2 separate regions of the Homo sapiens genome follow, and region 1 is linked to region 2. The links are contacts of gene promoters, found by promoter capture Hi-C in human tissues and cell types (Jung and others, 2019). All regions are on one chromosome and are shown on one strand. The core of a region is centred on a gene start or on the middle of the fragment in contact, and the rest is flanking DNA. Distances in the headings are between cores, read along the strand shown.

Region 1 (4,430 bases), core at 1,572-4,071, 310 kb before region 2:
TTTTATTGCAAGTTAAAAAGGGCATTTTATTTTTATCTTATTCTTTCTCTTTCTTAACTTTCAGATTCAGGGAGTACATGTGCAGGTTTGTTACACAGGTATATTGCATAATGCTTAGGTTTAGGGTGCAGTTGAACCTGGCACCCAGGTAATGAGCATAGTACCTGGCATGTCATTTTTCAACCGTTGTCCAACCCAGTTCCCCTTCTTATAGTCCCCACTGTCTATTGCTCCCATCTTTATGTCCATGTGTACCCAGTGTTTAGCTCCCACTTACAAGTGAGAACATGTAGTATTTGGTTTTCTGTTTCTGCATCAGTTTGCTTAGGATAATGGCCTCCAGCTGCATCGATGTTGCTGCAAAGGGCAGTATTTTGTTCTTTTTATAGTTGCATAGTATTCCATATTGTATATGTGCTGCATTTTCTTAATCCAGTGCATCATTGATGAGCTTCTGGTTTTAGTCCATATCTTTGCTATTGTGAATAGTGCTGCAGTGAACATTGGGTGCATGTGTCTTTTTGGTAGAATGATTTTTTGGTGGTGGGAAGTGGATATTTAACCAACTAATGGGATTGCTGGGTTGAATGGCAGTTCTACTTTTAGTTCCGTGAGAGAAACCTCCAAACTGCTTTCCACAGTGGCTGAACGAATTTACCATTTTCTCCAATAGTGTATTAGAATTCCCTTTTCGCTGTAGCAGCTCTGCCAAAATCTGGGTTGTTGTTGCTTATTTTTTGACTTTTTAGTAATAGCCATTATGTCTGGTGTGAGATGGTATGTCATTGTGGCTTTGATTTGCTTTTCTCTGATGATCAGTGATGATGAGCATTTTTTCATATGTTTGCTCTCCACTTTTATGTCTTTTTTTGAGAAGTGTCTGTTAATGTATTTTGCCCGCTTTTATATATTTTTTTAAATTCTTGTTTGTTGATTTAAGTTCCTTATAGGTTCTGGATAGTAGAACTTTGTTCAATGCATAGCTTGTAAATACATTCTTTCATTGTTTAGGTTGCCTATTTAGTCTCTTGAATGGTTCCTTTTCCTATGCAGAAGCTCCTTTGTTTAACTAGGTCCCAATTTTTCATTTTGACTTTTGTTGCAATTGCTTTTGAGGGCTTATTCATAAATTACTTTCAGAGGCTGATTTCTAATAGTGCATTTCTTAGGTTTTCTTGTAGGATTTTTATAGTTAGAGGTCTTACTTTTAAGAATGTAATTCAGCTTTCATTAATTTTTGTATGTTGTTATAGCTAGGGGTCAAGTTTCATTCTTCTGTGTATGGATAACCAGTCATCCCAGCACCATTTATTGAATAGGGAGTCCTTTCCCCATTGCATATTTGTGTCGGCTTTGTCAAAGACCCAGTGGTTGTAGGCATGTGGCTTTATTTCTGGGCTCTCTGTTCTGTTCCATTGGTCTATGTGTCTGTTTTTGTGCCAGTACCGTGCTGATTTGTTTAGTGTAGCATTTGTTTACTGTAGTATAGTTTGAAGTTGGGTAATGTGATGCATCAGGCTTGGTTCTCTTTGCTTAGGATGGCTCTGGGTGTTTGGGCTCTTTTCTGGTTCCATATGAAATTTTAGAATAGTTTTTTCTAATGCTGTGAAAAATGACGTTAGTAGTTTGATAGGAATGGTATTGAATCTGTAGATTGCTTTGGGCAGTATGGCCTTTTTTTTTTTTTTTTTTTTTTTTTGACTTAGTTCTTTTCCTTTTAATAGCAACCTAGCACCTCTGAGAATCAGAAAGATAGGGGAGGGCGCTTGGAGCACCAGCTGCACCAACGCTGGCAGGATGAAAATATTTATGCACCAATGAGGCACTAGCTGCTTTCAGAGACCTCCTTTGAACTGTTAATCAAGCCCAATCTTTCAGAATAATAGCCTGATTATTACCGCCCTGTTTGCATAACAAAGAAGCCCAATAAGACTTACTTTGCAGTGCACGAGGAGGTGTGAAGGATCGACCCTTAGAAAGGAGTCCTAGGAATGCAGTGAGCCGCTGCAGAGCCTGAACCCAGGAATAAAGACAATGCAATTTGCCACCAAGAAAAGCTCAACAGACCAATAAATTACCCGCGTGCAAAGGGATTAGATCAGGTTTCAGTTACTGTGTAGGAGGGGTGGGGTGAGCCGGAGAGGGAAAAGACCTGCCCTCTCTTAAAGGGGTAAGGCTCATTTTGAGTGCAAGCCCCAGGGTCAAGCTGTTTTTGTCCAACTCTGTGGCCTGCGTGGGAACTGCCTGAGTTCAGTTACTTGCTCCAAGTTCTGGACCCTTCTATGTGCCGGGCACTGTGATTAATGCTGTTTCTGGAACAAACCCCAGTTAATCTCTGCGCTCAGGTATGGTCAATCACAGAAACTTCTAGAATACAAAGCAAACATGTTTCATCTCAACACTTAACAGCAACAAAGGTTTAAGAATGGAAGTACGAGAAGGTATCAGGGAAGTAGCATTTCAACGAAGTCCTGAATTTGACGGGTGATGAAGGGCAAAGATCTGACGACAGGGACCTCCAGAACAACTGAGCTTGGCAGGAGGTGACATGCTGGCTGGTCAGAGTGTAGCCAGGAGTTTGGGGCCAGACACGGAAACCTAGAGTGCCACCTGTGCCCATTAGGAAGCAAATGTCGCTCAGCTTCAAACCACTTTGCTCTCTGGTGCAGGGATTCTGCAAACCCCATCTCTTTCGTCTCTGGGTTCCCTGTTAAATTTCCCCACAAGGGGACACTAGATGGAGAAGGGAAGGTGGGAGGCAGGAGACAGGTTTACCTGCCATCCCCAAGGCTGTTTCTCCCACCACTTACCAGCAGCGGCCCTTCTTCCCCATCAGAGACCCGGGCCCTCCTCCAAACCTGCCTTCCTTCTGTCCCTCTGGCTGCAGGGGTGGAAGCTGCTTCTGCCACTCTCTGTCCCAGCGGTCTCTCTTTGCCCTTTCAGTCTTCCCACGCCCATAACAATGCCCTACACGAAGTTCCCTCTGCGGAAACATCCCAGGTGGGTTTCGCTTTTCTGATTGGACCCTGGCACGCCAGCCTAAGGATTTCTGCCTTTTTCCAATAGATGGCAGGGAGCCCCTGAAGCATTTTCAGTGAGCACCCAGGGCGTGATCAGAACACTATTTTAGGAAGCAGTGTAACTGAAGAGGCGATGGCTTCAATTAGGATGGAGGCAGGCGGAGGGAAGGGAGGGAGAGCAGCTTAAAAAAGAAATCACTGCCAGCGCCTGTGGAGACACTAGCCTTGAAGCCTCAGACCTCCCATGTCCCCTTCCTCACTGTCCACCTAGCCTGAGCGGCAGATGCTGAGTTGCCCTTCTTAGCCACATGGTATGTCCCCCGTTCAAAGGAGGTGGAGGAGGGAGCACTGAGCCAGGGGGCTGGCCAGCTCACACCCAGTGAGACTCACGCTGCCACCCCTCCCCACCCTCTCCTGTCCTTTGTGCCTCAGTGCTGGATCTCACAGGGGACAGGAACAGACGGACCACCCATATGTGGCAAACTCTGGAGTATGGCCATTTTAATGCGATTGATTTTTCCAATTCATGAGCATGGAATGTTTTGCCATTTTTTTGGTGTCATCTATTTGGTGTCATGATTTTTTTTCAGCAGTGTTTTGTAGTTCTCCTTGTAACCACCTTTCATCTCTGTAGTTAGATGCATTCCTAAGTATTTTGCTTTTTTGTGTGTGGCTATTATAAATTGGATTACATTCTTGATTTGTCTCTCAGCTTGAACTTTATTGGTATATAGAAATGCTATGGATATTTTTACATTGATTTTTGTGTCCTGACTGAAGTCATTTATCAGTTCCAGGATAAATTGGCAAACTCTTTAGAGTTTTTTAGGTACAGAATCATATCATCAGCAAAGAGAGATAGTTTGGCTTCTTTTCCTTTTTGGATGGCTTTTCTTTCTTTCTTTTTCCTGATTGCTCTGGCTAGGAGTTCCAGTACTATGTTGAATACATACGGTGAGAGTGGGCATCTTTGTCTTGTTCCAGTTGGCAAGGGGAATGCTTCCAACTGTTTTTGTTCTTTTTTCTTTAATTTTTTTCTTTACTACTTTACAGAGACAAGGTCTCACTGTGTTGCCCAGCCTGGTCTCAGACTCCTGGCCTCAAGTGATTCTCCTGTCTTTGCCTCCCAGCATGCTGGGGTTACAAGCATGAGCCACTGCACTTAGCCCCCACTTCCAGCTTTTGCCCATTCTGTATGGTTTCAGCTGTGGGTTTGTCATAGAGTGGCCTTTATTATTTTGAGGTCTGTTTCTTTGATGCCTAATTTGTTGGGTGTTTTTTTCATGAAGGGATGATGGACGTTATTGAAAGCTTTTTTGCATCTTTTGAGTTGATCATATGGTTTTTCGTTTTCATTTTGTTTATGTGGTGAAACACATTTATTGATTTGTGTACTTTGAACCAATTGCA
Region 2 (4,748 bases), core at 293-2,792:
CACATCCAACCTCTTAGGTCACCTCTGCGAGAGAGTGTCTTGGTGGCCTCATTCTTACCTGTGGGCCTGAGGGGCACAGCGCCTACCCCTGCCACCTGCTCTGTGCGAGCTTGTGTGGGCCATTCTCCACCTGGGCATCAGTTTTTCTCCTGTAAAATGGGGACACTAGACCCCCTCCTCCCCTGCGAAGGATGGTTGGGCATATAACAGCTGTGGCTCATTTATTGGGGTCCTGCTATGTGTCAGCCAGGGCGAGCCCCCTTGAACAGCAAGGACCAAGACGGATGCTTCTCTTCTGGAGCCTCCCTTTGTAGGGGGGTACGAGCACAGGGGTGCTGACACTAAGTGGGAATAATAACCTGGCGCACAAAACAAAACAAAACGGAATAATAACCTGCCACTCACTGAGCGCCTGCTGTATGCTGCGAGCTACACGTGCATTCTTTGTTAATTTGCTCATGGTGACAACCTTAGAAAGTATTTTACAAATGAGGAAACTGGGTAGGGCGCGGTGGCTCACGCCTGTCATCCCAACACTCTGAGAAGCTGATACCAGAGGATCACTTGAGGCCAGGAGATCAAGACCAGCCTGGGCAACATAGCAAGCACCCCGTGTCTACAAAAAGTATAAATAAGGCCGGGCGCGGTGGCTCACGCCTGTAATCCCAGCACTTTGGGAGGCCGAGGCGGTTGGATCACGAGGTCAGAAGATCGAGACCATCCTGGCTAACACGGTGAAACCCCGTCTCTACTAAAAATACAAAAAAAAAAAAAAAAAAAATTAGCCGGGCGTAGTGGCGGGTGCCTGTAGTCCCAGCTACCCGGGAGGCTGAGGCAGGAGAATGGCGTGAACCCGGGAGGCGGAGGTTGCAGTGAGCCGAGACTGCGCCACTGCACTCCAGCCTGGGCGACAGAGCGAGACTCTGTCTCAAAAAAAATAAAAAATAAATAAAATAAATAAATTTAGCCAGGTGTGGTGGCCTGCGCCTATAATCCCAGGTAGTCGGGAGGCTGAGCCCAGGAGTTCGAGGCTGCAGTGAGCTATGATCACACCACTGCACTCCAGCCTGGGCAGCAGAGCAAGAAGACCCTGTCTCAACAAAACAAAAACAACACATGAGGAAACTAAGTCCAGAAGCAGGAGAGCTAGGACCCGAGGATCCAGGTGTCTCACTACCACCGGTCAGCCAAGTACAGGCACTTCCTGGGCCTCTGCGCCCCGGGGCCGAGGTTTAGAATCTCTCTGAGGTCAGGGCCAGCTTCATGTGCTGCAGCAGCGCAGGTGACGGTGCCTCGACCAGCGGCCGTTACGGCCCCTGCCCTGGGGCGCTGGGACTTAAGCCTGGAGATCGTGGAAGCCTCCAACTCCAGCACAGGGGGGGCCCGCACTCCTTGGTGCCTCCGCAGTCTTCGAACAGACGGGGAAACTGAGGCCCTAAGAGGCCTAAAGCCTACACTTCCCCGCGGAATGCGGCGGGCGCGGGCGGGTTAAAGGGGCGGGGCCGGCGCTGGCCCAGCCCGCGGCTCCCCCCAGCGCCCTCGCCCCGGCGCTCCCTAGCCCGGCGCGGCCCGGCAGCGAGAGCGGCGCCATGGAGGCCACCGGGGTGCTGCCGTTCGTGCGTGGCGTGGACCTCAGCGGCAACGACTTCAAGGTGAGCCGGGCCGGGCGCGTGCCGGGCCTCCCTGCAGGCCTTCTCTTCCGCCCGGCCCGCTTGGCCTCCGCTTCCTGTCCCGCTCGGCTCCAGGCCCTGCGTGTCCCAGGGACTGCGGCCGGGGCGGGGTGGGGCTCTCCCCTGGCCAGGAATGGACCTCCGAGGCCTCCGCCCAGTGCCTGTACGGGGAGACCGAGGCTGGGCAGGCCGGGGACGGACGCTTGGGCTCGGAGTCCCGCCGGGGGCCCGGCCGGGAGCCCCCACCCCGCGTCCGTGTTCTCGGTCTAGGCTGGATGGTGGCCTGGGGATCGGGCGAGCCTCCCCGCCCCTCTGAGGTCACACGCCCAAGCCAGGCCCTGACTCAGGGATGGCTGCCCGGCTGCCCAGGGGCGGGTGTGGAGCCGACTCATCACTGCCCTCTCCCCGCCACCGCCACCCGCCATACTGTGTGATCCTGGGCCTCTCAGATCACTTCCCCTCTCAGAGCCTAGGCTTTCTCAGCCGGTGAAGGGGCTTAAAAGTCTCCTCCTTGGACGCAAGGAGTATAGTGAGATTTGTTGGTGTGGAGAGTGTGTCAGGCCGGTGTGCCAGGTGCTGGGTGGCAGTTGTCTGAGCAGCTGCTGGACTGAGAGAAAAGGGACCGGAGCCCAGCCCTCCGCAGCCAGTGGGTGGGGCGGCGGGGTGGTTCCAGGACTCAAGAATGAGACAGGCATTGCCTGACCAAAGGGGAAGCAGAGAAAGAGAGGGAGGGAGAGCTGGCTGGAGGGTCAGCCTCACCTTCAGGGTGGGTGACTGGCAGGGTCGGCCTGGGTTGTTGGTCTGGGGCTGGGGCCGAGGAGGCAGGTTTTTCCTGCGTTTACCTGCCTGTGTACACACCTTTGACCCCAAGTACAAGTGGCTACACCACTTTTCCCTGACCCCATCCCCACCACCCTAACCTGGGGTCCCCGTTCCTCTTTGCTGAACTGGGAGAGTCCGAGTCACCAGCTGGGAATGTGGCGCTAGGGGGAAAGGAATATCAGCCGCAGGCACTGAAGGCACCTACTGCCCCAGACTTGGTGCCACAAGGGCTGGAGGTGCCGAGGTGGGCGTTCACACACCAGGGGAGTGCAGTGATGCTGGCCTGCCCTGCAGGGTGGGGAGCCACGGTCTCCGCAAGCAAGGGTTTGACCCTGGCCGTGAGTTGCCAGTGTGCTGATGGCAGGATGAGGGCACAGGTGGCGCCTTTGCAAAGGCTTGGAAGGGGGATCCCCCACCCCAGGCAGCCAGTCAGAGTGTGGAATGCTAGGTGAAGGAATTTGAGCCGAGCTAACCACAGAGCCGGATGCTGGGCTTTCACCTGAAACAAGCCAGTTTTGTCCTGGCCCTCCTGGGGCCCAGAATCCAGTAGGAGAGACAAATCTTAGGCCAACACTTTTGTCACGGGGGGGCTTAAAATTCCCATTCTATGGGTGAAGAAATTGAGGCACAATGATGAAATGACTTGTCTGTGTTCTCACAGATGGTGAGAGTTGGTTCTGTGGCTCCCCAAAGGCTCCCATGGGCTGGAGGAGCCATAGAAGGTGGTGAGCAGGGGCTCTGTGCTTCACCTTGACATCCTTCCCCCAGGGCGGCTACTTCCCTGAGAATGTCAAGGCCATGACCAGCCTGCGGTGGCTGAAGCTGAACCGCACTGGCCTCTGCTACCTGCCCGAGGAGCTGGCCGCCCTGCAGAAGCTGGTAAGGGGGTTTGGGCGGGCAGGGGAGGGTCCCTGTGGATGAGCCAGGTGGGCAGAGCCTGTGGAGAAGGCAGACAACTTCTCCAGAGAGAGGAACACCGACAGCTATGAGCAGAGCTGGAAGAAAGGGAGTGGGCACCCTGTCCAGGGAGGTGTGCAAGAAGAGGCCGGGTGAGTGAGGGAGGGAAGCTGCAGGGGTAGTTGGGCCAGTGTGGCTGAGGCCTTCCTGGATGGTGCAGAGTTGTGGAGGCAGGCAGGGACTCTGGACACCCCACCCACCCTGCTGAGCCTGTGCTCCCCATTCCGGCCCAGGAACACTTGTCTGTGAGCCACAACAACCTGACCACGCTTCATGGGGAGCTGTCCAGCCTGCCATCGCTGCGCGTGAGTGCTGGCCGGGAGGCCACCGAGCTTGGGGTTGGGGCCAAGGTCCGGTCAGGGACGTGAAGCCTGGGCTAGACACCAAGCTGGGCCAGCATTTCTGCCCACCTCCGTGTCAGGCTCAGAGGCTCAGGTGTCACAGAGGGGCCCTCTCATTAGAGGTTACAGCAGTGCCCTGTGTAAAGTAACCCATGTGGATCAGAGAATTCCATCAGGAAAAAGGTAAAGAAATCCAAAATCTTACCAGCCGTTATGGACAATAACTACAGTAATAATAGCCAAGACTGGCTGAGCAATGTTCCCACTATTCTGTTAGGATTTTTTCATATGCTCTAGCCCTCCACTAATGTTGCAGAAGAGAAACTTGGCCACCAAGGCAGATTACTTGCCCCAGGTCACAGAGCCAGGCAGTGGTAGAGCTGGTGTTGAGTGGGGTTTGGCCGGGAGCACCGTGTACCTTCTACCCAAGACTTGAACGTCCCAGAACATCAGGCCCTTGGCCAGACCCTGTAGGCCTCAACGAGGGCCATCCCATCTGAAGTCAGAGCCCTGGAGATGTTTAGGGCACAGCTTCTGACTTGGACTCTCTGAGTTCAAAGCTGGGCTTTGCCACTTCCTGGTGATGTGACTTTGTACAAATCGCTTCTACCTTCTGGGCCTCCTCTGCAAGTGCAGTGGTTGGGAGGGGCAGCAGTGACCCCGTGAAGCAGCAGCAGGGTGCCGCACAGGCATTCAGACTGGAGAAGTGGCGGGGCAGCTCCGGTGACTCCCGTTGTCACTTGGAGTCACGACACCATTCTCTGGCCCTGTTCCCTCATGCTCAAGCTTTCTGCATGTCTGTAAGGTATGAGGAGGTGTCAGTCTTAAGTTAGGGAGAGAAAGCAGACTTCCTCTCCATCCAGATTCTGATTTCTCTGTGGTCCACTTCTCTCCCTCTGTTCTGAAAACCCTGACTCAGACCTTACCCCTATCTCACCTTCTGGAATTAAGAAGAAGA

The links. Contacts are between HindIII fragments. The study calls those that stand out against the background at their distance.
Region 1: a contact is called between a fragment that was not itself captured here and the fragment with the promoter of FLII in region 2, in 1 of the 25 tissues and cell types used here (spleen).

Annotation. Positions count from the first base shown.
Region 1 is chr17:18,567,260-18,571,689 of GRCh38, reverse strand. It overlaps the pseudogene CCDC144BP. Among named protein-coding and RNA genes, the nearest start is that of FAM106A, 43 kb to the right of the region's middle. RefSeq lists an enhancer at 1,671-2,404. The HindIII fragment of the contact is 3,931 bases long and covers 856-4,430 here.
Region 2 is chr17:18,255,532-18,260,279 of GRCh38, reverse strand. It overlaps FLII (FLII actin remodeling protein), which reads left to right and starts at 1,542. Exons shown (of 30, transcript NM_002018.4): 1 at 1,542-1,652; 2 at 3,261-3,371; 3 at 3,683-3,754. The coding sequence starts at 1,590. RefSeq lists enhancers at 1-60, 1,670-2,171, 2,171-2,250, 2,910-3,576 and silencers at 1,451-1,850, 1,861-2,000. The HindIII fragment of the contact is 13,885 bases long and covers 1-4,748 here.